Regions from separate parts of the Homo sapiens genome. Here all the other regions are linked to region 1. Evidence: promoter capture Hi-C in 16 types of primary human blood cells and fetal thymus (Javierre and others, 2016). All regions are on one chromosome and are shown on one strand. Each heading gives the region's core, a stretch centred on a gene start or on the middle of the fragment in contact. The rest is flanking DNA. Distances are from core to core; before and after follow the strand shown.

Region 1 (2,949 bases), core at 91-2,590:
AATGCAATTGTAGCTGCAGCACCATCACTGCTGGCCTGTAAAACATTTTATATTCTTAAGAGGGAGGCATTCGTGATACTAATTCTTTTTACAGATAGTTTCTGATGTTATCCCAAAAGCAATGCACTTTAAAAAATAATGATCAGAATCAAAGAATTTAAACAAAAAGCAAAGAATTTAAACAAAAAGCACTTTTCACCGCATTATTTAATTAAATCATTTGTCAAAATGAAATTTGACCTTCTGCTTATTGGCAAAATCCTCATTTATAACATTTACAAGAGATTTTAACTCAATAAACGAAGTACGTTAACAGTGCACTGCCCTGCCCTGCAGTAACGCCCCCCACCCCCACAAACTGTATCTGGGGTCAGCTGTTGCTGGGAATAAAAATAATAGGCAGATTCACTCCAGCTTTCAGTCTTTCATTTGCAACCAATCTCCAAGCCCCAGAGCCTGGGGGCCGTGCCTTTCCACCCTTCACGCGGGGCGCACGGATCTGAATATTTAACACCCGGTTCCAGGACACGCGCCTGGGGAACACCCACAATCCCTCGCGGCCCGCGGAGCCCGGCTGGCGGGTGACCCAGCGCCCGCGGCTCCGAGAGGAGCGAGGTCACCCGGCGCTTCCCGAGACCTTGGCCCTAGGCCCAGCTGGCGCTGGGACGCGAGGCAACCGAGCCGCCGGCCAATCAGCGCTTTGCAGGACTAGCACGCAGGGGCCGCACCCCTGAGGGTGACCGGAACCGCTCCCGCGGGAAGGGCAGGGTGCGGCGCCTGGCCGCAGACAGACAAGGGGGCGCCGGCTCTTCAGAACCCCAGGGAGAAAGCGGTGGAGGGCTAGAGTTGAGGAGACTAAGGACATTTGAGGAGGGCAGGCATTACCAAGTTAAAACCTCCTGAAAGACAACTCCATTGGGCGACCGTCTGCGCCGCACAGCCTGACGGGAGCGTCATCCTTCCTGCGCAGGCTGCAACCGACAGACAGGCTCGGCTCCGCCTCCAGCCGCGGGGCACGCGGGGAGAGCCGTTCCTCCCTCCCTCCGCTAACCCGGACAGCAAAGGAGCATTTCCGGCGTAAGACTGTCCCTACGGAAGGGGTGGGGCTAGCTTGGCCCCGTCTTTCACGCCCAGAGGGGGCGGGGTGAACCGTGACAGCGCTTCGGCCCGCACTAAGGCCGGCTCTTGTGCCGGAAGGAGGAAGGCGTGGGCATTCGCCCCTCGGAGCTAGGGAGTGTGTGCGACGCCGCTGCGAGGTCACGTGAGCCACTGCCGGCAGAGAGGGAAAGGGGCGGGGCCCAGAACGAAGCGGGGAGGCGCCCCTTGTTTCCCTGGGGTCACGCGCAGCCGGAAGTGGCGGCTGCTGCGGAGAATTGGAGATGGGGACCGCCCTGGACATCAAGATTAAAAGAGCGAATAAAGTTTATCACGCCGGGGTAAGTGGGGGCTGGGGGTGGGGATGGAGGTGGGGTTGGGCGGGTCTGCAGGTTCCGCTGTCTCCATCGCTCTGCGCACGTCCCGCGTCCCTAGGCGGGGCAGGGCTGTCCCGCCAGGTGCGTCTCCGCCAAGGTGGGTGCGTTCCCGCCAGGTGCGTCCCCGCCAGGTGCTTCCCGCGCGAGGCTGGCTGCCCTGCGAGGAGGCCCCAGGGCAGGCGCCGCCGCCGCATCTGCGGGACGTGCAGGGCAGGCGCCCAGCTCCGGGGCTGCGCTCTTCCCATCTGGCCCCTTGAACACCCGGCGGTGTTGGGTTCTCAGGCTTGAGCTCCCTCAGTGAGCGCTGAGGGCGGAGGAGTTGACGACCAAACTCCCCTTTCCCTCTCTCCTAAGGTGACCGCAAAGGTCTAATGAACGAAAGCTAAAACAAACCTTGGAAGCAGAAATGGGTATGTCTGGCGGCAGCATATATTAGATGGTAGTCACTTTTAACAACATACTAACATACTACGAAAGTTACTGCTTTTTCTGGTTTTATTCTTCGACTGACACAAAGGAATGGCTATTAAAATGCAAGTATAAAAAAGTAAAATCTTGACTATGCCATTAACAGGTTTTGTGACATTGGCCAGTCATTTAACCTCCTTGGGCCTCAGTGTCCTTATTTGCAAATGAGGGTGTTGTAAGGTTCCTCTAACTCGGGGAATCTCAACCCTTACTCTACATCAGAATCAGTCATCCTGGAGAATTTTAAAATATGATTGCTTGGGTTCCACTCCCAGCGATACCGGTGATATATGTGCAGCTAGGGTTGAAATCACAGCCCCAACACTCTTTGGAATAAAATTGATCGCAGTGGTTGGTCATATTAATGCAAAGTAATCTCAAAAGGGACAGAATTTCAGACAAAGGTCTTGGATGGATGCTAAAACTTTTGGGCAAAAGACAACTAGGGAAGCCTGCTCTTATTTACACAAGCTCAAATGGTCATCCCCTTGATGGTTAATTACAAAGGGAAAAATCTGGCCCGCGCGGTGGCTCACGCTTGTATTACCAGCACTTTGGGAGGCCGAGGCGGGCGGATCACCTGAGGTCAGGAGTTCGAGACCAGCCTGGCCAACATGGTGAAACCTGGTCTCTACTAAAAATACAAAAATTAACCGGGCGTGGTGGCGGACGCCTCTAATCCAAGCTACCAGGGAGGCTGAGGCAGAAAAATCGCTGGAACCCGGGAGGCGGAGGCTGCAGTGAGACGAGATTGTGCCACTGCACTCCAGCCTGGGCAACAGAGTGAGACCCCGTCTCAAAAAAAAAAAAAAAAAAAAAAAAAGAGAAAAAGCTACCTTTATAATGGAGAAATCTGGTAGTCACACTCCTCTAGCCAAGCACAACAATGAACACCACTTCACCATCACAACTAATGAGACGACTGACATTCGGTACCCCTTGGCATGATGCACAGAGAAGGCCACAACTCACCTATGTAGTATTCCTGCCAAAAATGTTTAATCCGTAT
Region 2 (3,068 bases), core at 481-2,980, 130 kb before region 1:
AAGAGAACTATAGGTTCCTGCTCTGGAAAAGAGATGTCCCTTGTGACTAAATGTGTACTTAAGTGCTCCTAAGAAACCAGAGTGTAGCAAACTTCTAACTACTCTTCACTGGACTTTTAATTAGAGGAGACAAAGGTATAATCAGGGCTGGTTAGTTTTAGGTTTCTAATTAATTTCAAAACTTGTCTTTCAATATACTACCCTTAGCACAACTTGCCCAAATAATTTACTTTTTCCATTAATTACATTAATTCTTTGCTAAACAAAAATGAGGAAAAAGGGTCCCCAGAAATATACTAAGAAATAGCTTCATATATACTAGTTGTGGCAGAGACTCCAGTCATCATCTTCCATAGTAATGGTAGCCCAGCACATGACGGCCCAACTAGGTTATACCTCCCAGGCTCCCTTGTGGCTGGGTATGGCCATGTGGCTAAGTTCGCATGGAAAGAATGTGAAAACAAGTGCCACTTCTGGGCCTTAGGACACTGAGTGAGCATTTCTATTCTGTCTCTGCACCTCCTACTCTGCATCTTCTGAGCTAGTACAGAGACAACACACGAGGACTATACCCTAGGGCAGAGCAGAGGAACAAGACGGAAAAAAATGCATGACTCCAGATGACCACGTGAGGCAGTCACCGCCACCAACCTAGGCACTCACCTCCAGATGATTCCATGCTCTTAGAGCCATCAAATTGCTGGAACTGTTAGAGTGGCTCAACTGTTTACCCTAATTCACTACTCTCTACATGATAAATGGAACTAATTCCTTCTCACAACTACATCAGTTGAGGACATTCTAATGTGTTCACCATACTTGATGATAAAATTCTGCACCCTGAAGGGCTCTCAAAGGGTCGTCTACCAATTCTTCAAGTTTATAAACAATGAAAGTTAAGCCTATGGAAATTTTAAAACATGGTAGGTAGTAAGAATAGTTGATGCCAGGTCTCTTAACTTCCTAGTTCACTTTTCCCTCAATATTACGCTACGGACTAGATTCTAAAATCATAGAACAGGGAATTACACTTAAAAAAAAAAACAAAAAAACTTTGGATTAATTTAATTCACTGACTCAAAAAATAATTTACCCCAGCATCTATCAATTGCCAAGCAATGTATTTTCAGGTGAATGGAGATTTCCAGAGGACTTCAGTTTTCTGGCTATACTATGCCTTTAACTCTCCTGAGCCTGGACAAATTACACAGAAAACGGACAAATACAAAGAAGTTAACATTACCTTAAATGACAGAAAAATAACTCATTTTGAAAATTTTCTTTAAAGAGGGTAATATATTAGAAACCCTATTCTACTTCTCCCACTACTGCCCTCCATCCCCAACCTAAAAAAAAAAAGAGGCGTTTTCATTTATACCAAGTCCAAAGCCACAAACCAATAAACCCAGATAACAATATGCCTCCTATACCCCTTCTCCTTCCTAGAGGACAAGGGCACAGGGACCTGTGGTCCACCCACTTCACCTACTGGCCCTGCACTACACAGAAAACAGATACATGGGGCCAGGAATCACTCCCAGGAGGAAAGACAGCAATGACTTAAGAACATGTCCCTGAGAGAACATCTCCTATGTTTTGTGTGGCATATAAAAGCCCTGGCTTGTCATATGTTAACAAGGTGGAAAACATGAAGAGTTTTCAGTATACAGTGCCATTATGAAGACAAAAGGTTTCCAAATCCCAGAACAGAGTCTATCCTAACAGGGCTTTATTCACAAGGATAAAAACCAATTGACTTGGATGCAAAATTTCACAGAGTAAATGTTTCCACCCATCTAGAATGTTTTTCTTTTTAATCCATTAAATGTAAGTAAAATCTTAGTATTAAAATAATATAGCCAAAATCACATCCTAAGGTTTCCAAAGATGGGAGAGGGGACACAGATAATGCAGGGCAGGTACTATGCCAGAGTAATTCTTATAGGATTATGTTTCTCAACCTTTTTTTGAGTATCCCATCCCCAGGAGAGAAATTTAATTTAAATTTAATTCAATAAATTAAATGTATTCTTAACAAGGGAAATTAAACATTAAGGAATAAGGTTTTGTCAGGTAAGATTAACTTCTGGAGGGCCACAAACCATGATTAACATCTAAGATTTTCCATCCCCCTCCGAAGAACAATGAGGTGAGGAGCGGGAGCACAGATTCAAGCTGCCCTGAATATATACTCCCCAATAACAATCCTTACACCCTTGAAGGGCGACATCATCCTTACAGAGAATAAGAATACAGGGCCTAAAAATGCGATCTTCAAACTCTGTAACATCCAAACCTCTGCTAAGATACTTAGGTATAGTTAGCCTAGTTAGGTTAAACCTGAGAATCTACATTTCCTAGTGAGCTTTCGGACGGACTCCAATGTATCTGGCCCATGAGCCAAAATGTTTCTGACAAACTTCCACTGTCACATCCAAACCTAATCACAGGATGCCCATCCCTCAAGTCAGAATCAAGAAGAGAACTATTTAAATGGATGAAACAATCCAGGGCATGAAGAAGGGAGAGATCTGTCTGGGGGCGGGGACGCAACTACAGGGAATCTGAGATCCCTCTCTTCTTCCACCTGTACAAAGGACAACCACAGGTGAACTGTAGAATACTTGAGATCGTTTGTGAACTGTAACACGTAACCCAGGAGGAGGTTTATGTCACTGATTTCACGAAGTACATATTCAGGATTTCACAAGTACATATTCAGGGTTTTTATCTAGTCTTTTGCTACTTTAGGTGCAACGTGGAGCTGAGTATCCCATAACCTTTTTGGCACCAGGGACTACTTTTGTGGAAGACAATTTTTCCACGGACAGGAGGAGGTGGGAAATGGTTTCAGAATGAAACTCTTCTACTTCAGATCATCAGTTAGATTCTCATAAGGAGCATGCAACCTAGATCCCTCACATGTGCAGTTCACAACAGGGTTCGCGCTCCTATGAGAATCAAATGCCGCCACTGATCTGACAGGAGGCAGAGCTCAGGCAGAAATGATCGCTTGCCCAAAGCTCACCTCATGGGGTGCAGTCCAATTCCTAACAGGCCACAGACCA
Region 3 (2,707 bases), core at 91-2,590, 150 kb before region 1:
TGTGCTTTCTCATGCAATTATGTGAAAAGAACTAGGGAGAAGGTTTAAGAACTAAAAGCTGAGCAGATTAAATGAGTTTTGCCCCAAATTTTGGCTATCTCAACCATCAACTCAGTATCTCTGAGAGCACATCTGGGCCTGAAAGACAAAATCAGGCACTGAGTATTTGGACGTACCAACAAATAGAGGAAAACAGGAGGGAAATGCCTCATATGCACATTACCTGCAACAATACATAATGCACTGACACATCATTTCTAAAACTGAAGGGGAGAAACAGAAGTTTCTGGGGGTAAGTTATCATCAGTAATTGTAAAGTAGTAGTACAGGTACTCTGTTACTAACTCAAAATATGTAAACTACCACTGATATTCTATTTTGCTTGCTGTCCTCTGTCTTCCTTTAGAATGTGAAAACATTTACAATGATTTGCACAGGTTTGTATGACCTTCAAGTCTATCAACTGTTTATCTATTCTCTTGTGAATAGATATTCTCAAAAATGAATTCTCAAACCACAGAGCTTTTCGGGAACCTAACTCCCACTACTAGAAAGTGACTGGTCTATCAAGTAGACACTAGAAAGCACCCCTATCACATGCAGACCTAGGTTCCAAAGGCTCATTTCTAAGACAGTTGGTTAAAAGTCTACATTAAGAACTCCTTTAGTATGTAGTATGTAAAGCCAACTTTTATAAGGCGGGCTTGTTCCAGGCCCAGAAGACCTCAGTGAACTGAGCTCGAAAGTCCCAGTTATGTTTCACTGCATGAGATGACTTATCTTTAATGGGCCCTGGTATAAATTTTCTACTTTAAACCACTAAACCCCATAATTACAAAAAGTAAGTACCACTATCATTCCCATTGTCCAGGTGAGAAAACTAAGGCACAGAGAGGTGAAGTGAAACCATCCCAAATCACACACGACTAATGGTAGAGAGATATTCAAATCCAAGCAAACTGACTACTAAGCCACTGCTTTTGGCCATATTAAACTGAATCTACCATTTCCCCTACTCAAAAAGGGAGGAAAAACAGAGAAAAAATCCACTTCTCCTTTCTGTATTCTCAGTCTTGGGTAACGGGTGTCACCATCAGCCCAATCTCCCAAGGGCAAAAACTGTATTACCTTTGCACCAACCTAATAAAATTCCACCACCCAAAATTTGGTGTTGGAATCTCTGCTCCTTAAATATATGTATATATACATATATATCTTTATATCAACAATTTATATTTGCATCATCATTTTACCAGGTGCACAGTACTCCACTGCAAAGACGTAAATGCATTTTAAGCAAACACCTATTGAGGGTATGTGGCTTGTTTCTAATTTTCACTAGCATGAATTTTAAATCTTAGAGCCTGCTTCTTCCCCTCTGCTAACAGGAACTAAGAGCAAAGTGGTATGAAGAAAACACCAAGAGCCATGAAGACAAGTCCTTTAACTGATATGCTTGCTTAAGGATGTTCTTTTATGTCACCTACACAAAATGTACTCAAAATTTCTATTATTCAAATCAATTCTAGATCTTAAGAGGAACTTAGAAGAGGTGGCCCAATGACGCTCTAGGTGCTCTGGGAATCAAAGCTGAGATCCAGCGCTTAGTGCTATCTATTGTAACGTTTCCCTCACTAACCTGAACATCTAGGGTAATCTCATTTATGTATATATTCCCTAACAAAGGAGTATCTATCAGACAGAAGACATTTAGAAAGAATATGTTCAATCAGTAACCTGCAAGCCCTTCTCATAACTAGCTTATAAGAAATGCACTGGAAAACTGCCTTGCTCTCTCTCCCTTCTGACAGCACCAACTTTTCCACACAGGATGTTCTATAATACAATATATACACACATATATAATTTATATATAAAATGTAAATATATAATTGATTTGCATGAGTGCATGCATACATATACTTAGTTGGTTATATGTACTTTTATACGTATGTAATTATATATCATTTTATAAACCATTGCCTTTAAATAATCCTTGCATCTCAGAAACACAGAAAAATAACAAGGCCCAGAAATAATCAAAAACACACACTGCATGAATAGCTTACATTTTCTTCCAATGAGTCTATTACTAAAAGCAGTAAAGTGAGTTCAGTTTTACTTACTTCCCCTCCCACACTTCTGTGGAGTTTACAGAGAAATGCTACCCCCTTAAAAATTCTTAAAATGTATGTTCTTGTATTTCACAACACTAGCTATCCTCCAAATAATCCATGTCTCTTTCACATTTAGCCCTAACCTCAGATGTGACCTCTGGTTCTATCCCCTGACCGCTTCACTCATTTCTCTATACATCTTTCCCTGCAAAAGAAGTATTTTCAATGGTTTACTCCAAACTAATACTTCAAACTCTCTTCTCCACTCAAACTTTTCACTCAATATCTAGTCTAACAAGCTGTTGGGTGGCTGCCTACAGTGCCACATCCCTGCCTCCATTCTCTATGCCTACAACTCCTCATCACATTCCTGCACCACATGTTATCCACTTGAACTTCCCATCTCTATTCCCGCACCACCATTCTTTCAGTAATTTCATTAGAAGCTGCTGACTTTATCTAAATGGTCTTACTAAATCCTATCCATTTTCGAAGTGCCTCATGCCTTTCCATTCCTCTCCATGCTCACTTTAGTCACCTGAACCAAGTCCTTAATTCACCTTAAGTATTACAAATGCTTCCTAGAATTA

What was found. The method cuts DNA at HindIII sites, captures the fragments that hold promoters and counts their contacts. A CHiCAGO score of 5 or more calls a contact.
Region 2: a fragment that was not itself captured here is called in contact with the fragment with the promoter of VPS26C in region 1 in 10 of 17 cell types (naive CD4 T cells, naive CD8 T cells, total CD8 T cells and 7 more); the score reaches 9.4 in naive CD4 T cells.
Region 3: a fragment that was not itself captured here is called in contact with the fragment with the promoter of VPS26C in region 1 in 8 of 17 cell types (naive CD8 T cells, naive CD4 T cells, naive B cells and 5 more); the score reaches 8.5 in naive CD8 T cells.

What each region holds. Positions count from the first base shown.
Region 1 is chr21:37,265,725-37,268,673 of GRCh38, reverse strand. VPS26C (VPS26 endosomal protein sorting factor C) reads left to right here and starts at 1,340. Exons shown (of 8, transcript NM_006052.2): 1 at 1,340-1,436. The coding sequence starts at 1,380. RefSeq lists silencers at 535-694, 1,435-1,744 and an enhancer at 1,235-1,294. The HindIII fragment of the contact is 6,761 bases long and covers 1-2,949 here.
Region 2 is chr21:37,394,505-37,397,572 of GRCh38, reverse strand. All of the region lies in intron 1 of DYRK1A (dual specificity tyrosine phosphorylation regulated kinase 1A), which reads right to left. Among named protein-coding and RNA genes, the nearest start is that of DYRK1A, 29 kb to the right of the region's middle. The HindIII fragment of the contact is 7,776 bases long and covers 1-3,068 here.
Region 3 is chr21:37,412,573-37,415,279 of GRCh38, reverse strand. The region is part of intron 1 of DYRK1A (dual specificity tyrosine phosphorylation regulated kinase 1A); the gene reads right to left. Among named protein-coding and RNA genes, the nearest start is that of DYRK1A, 47 kb to the right of the region's middle. The HindIII fragment of the contact is 8,167 bases long and covers 1-2,707 here.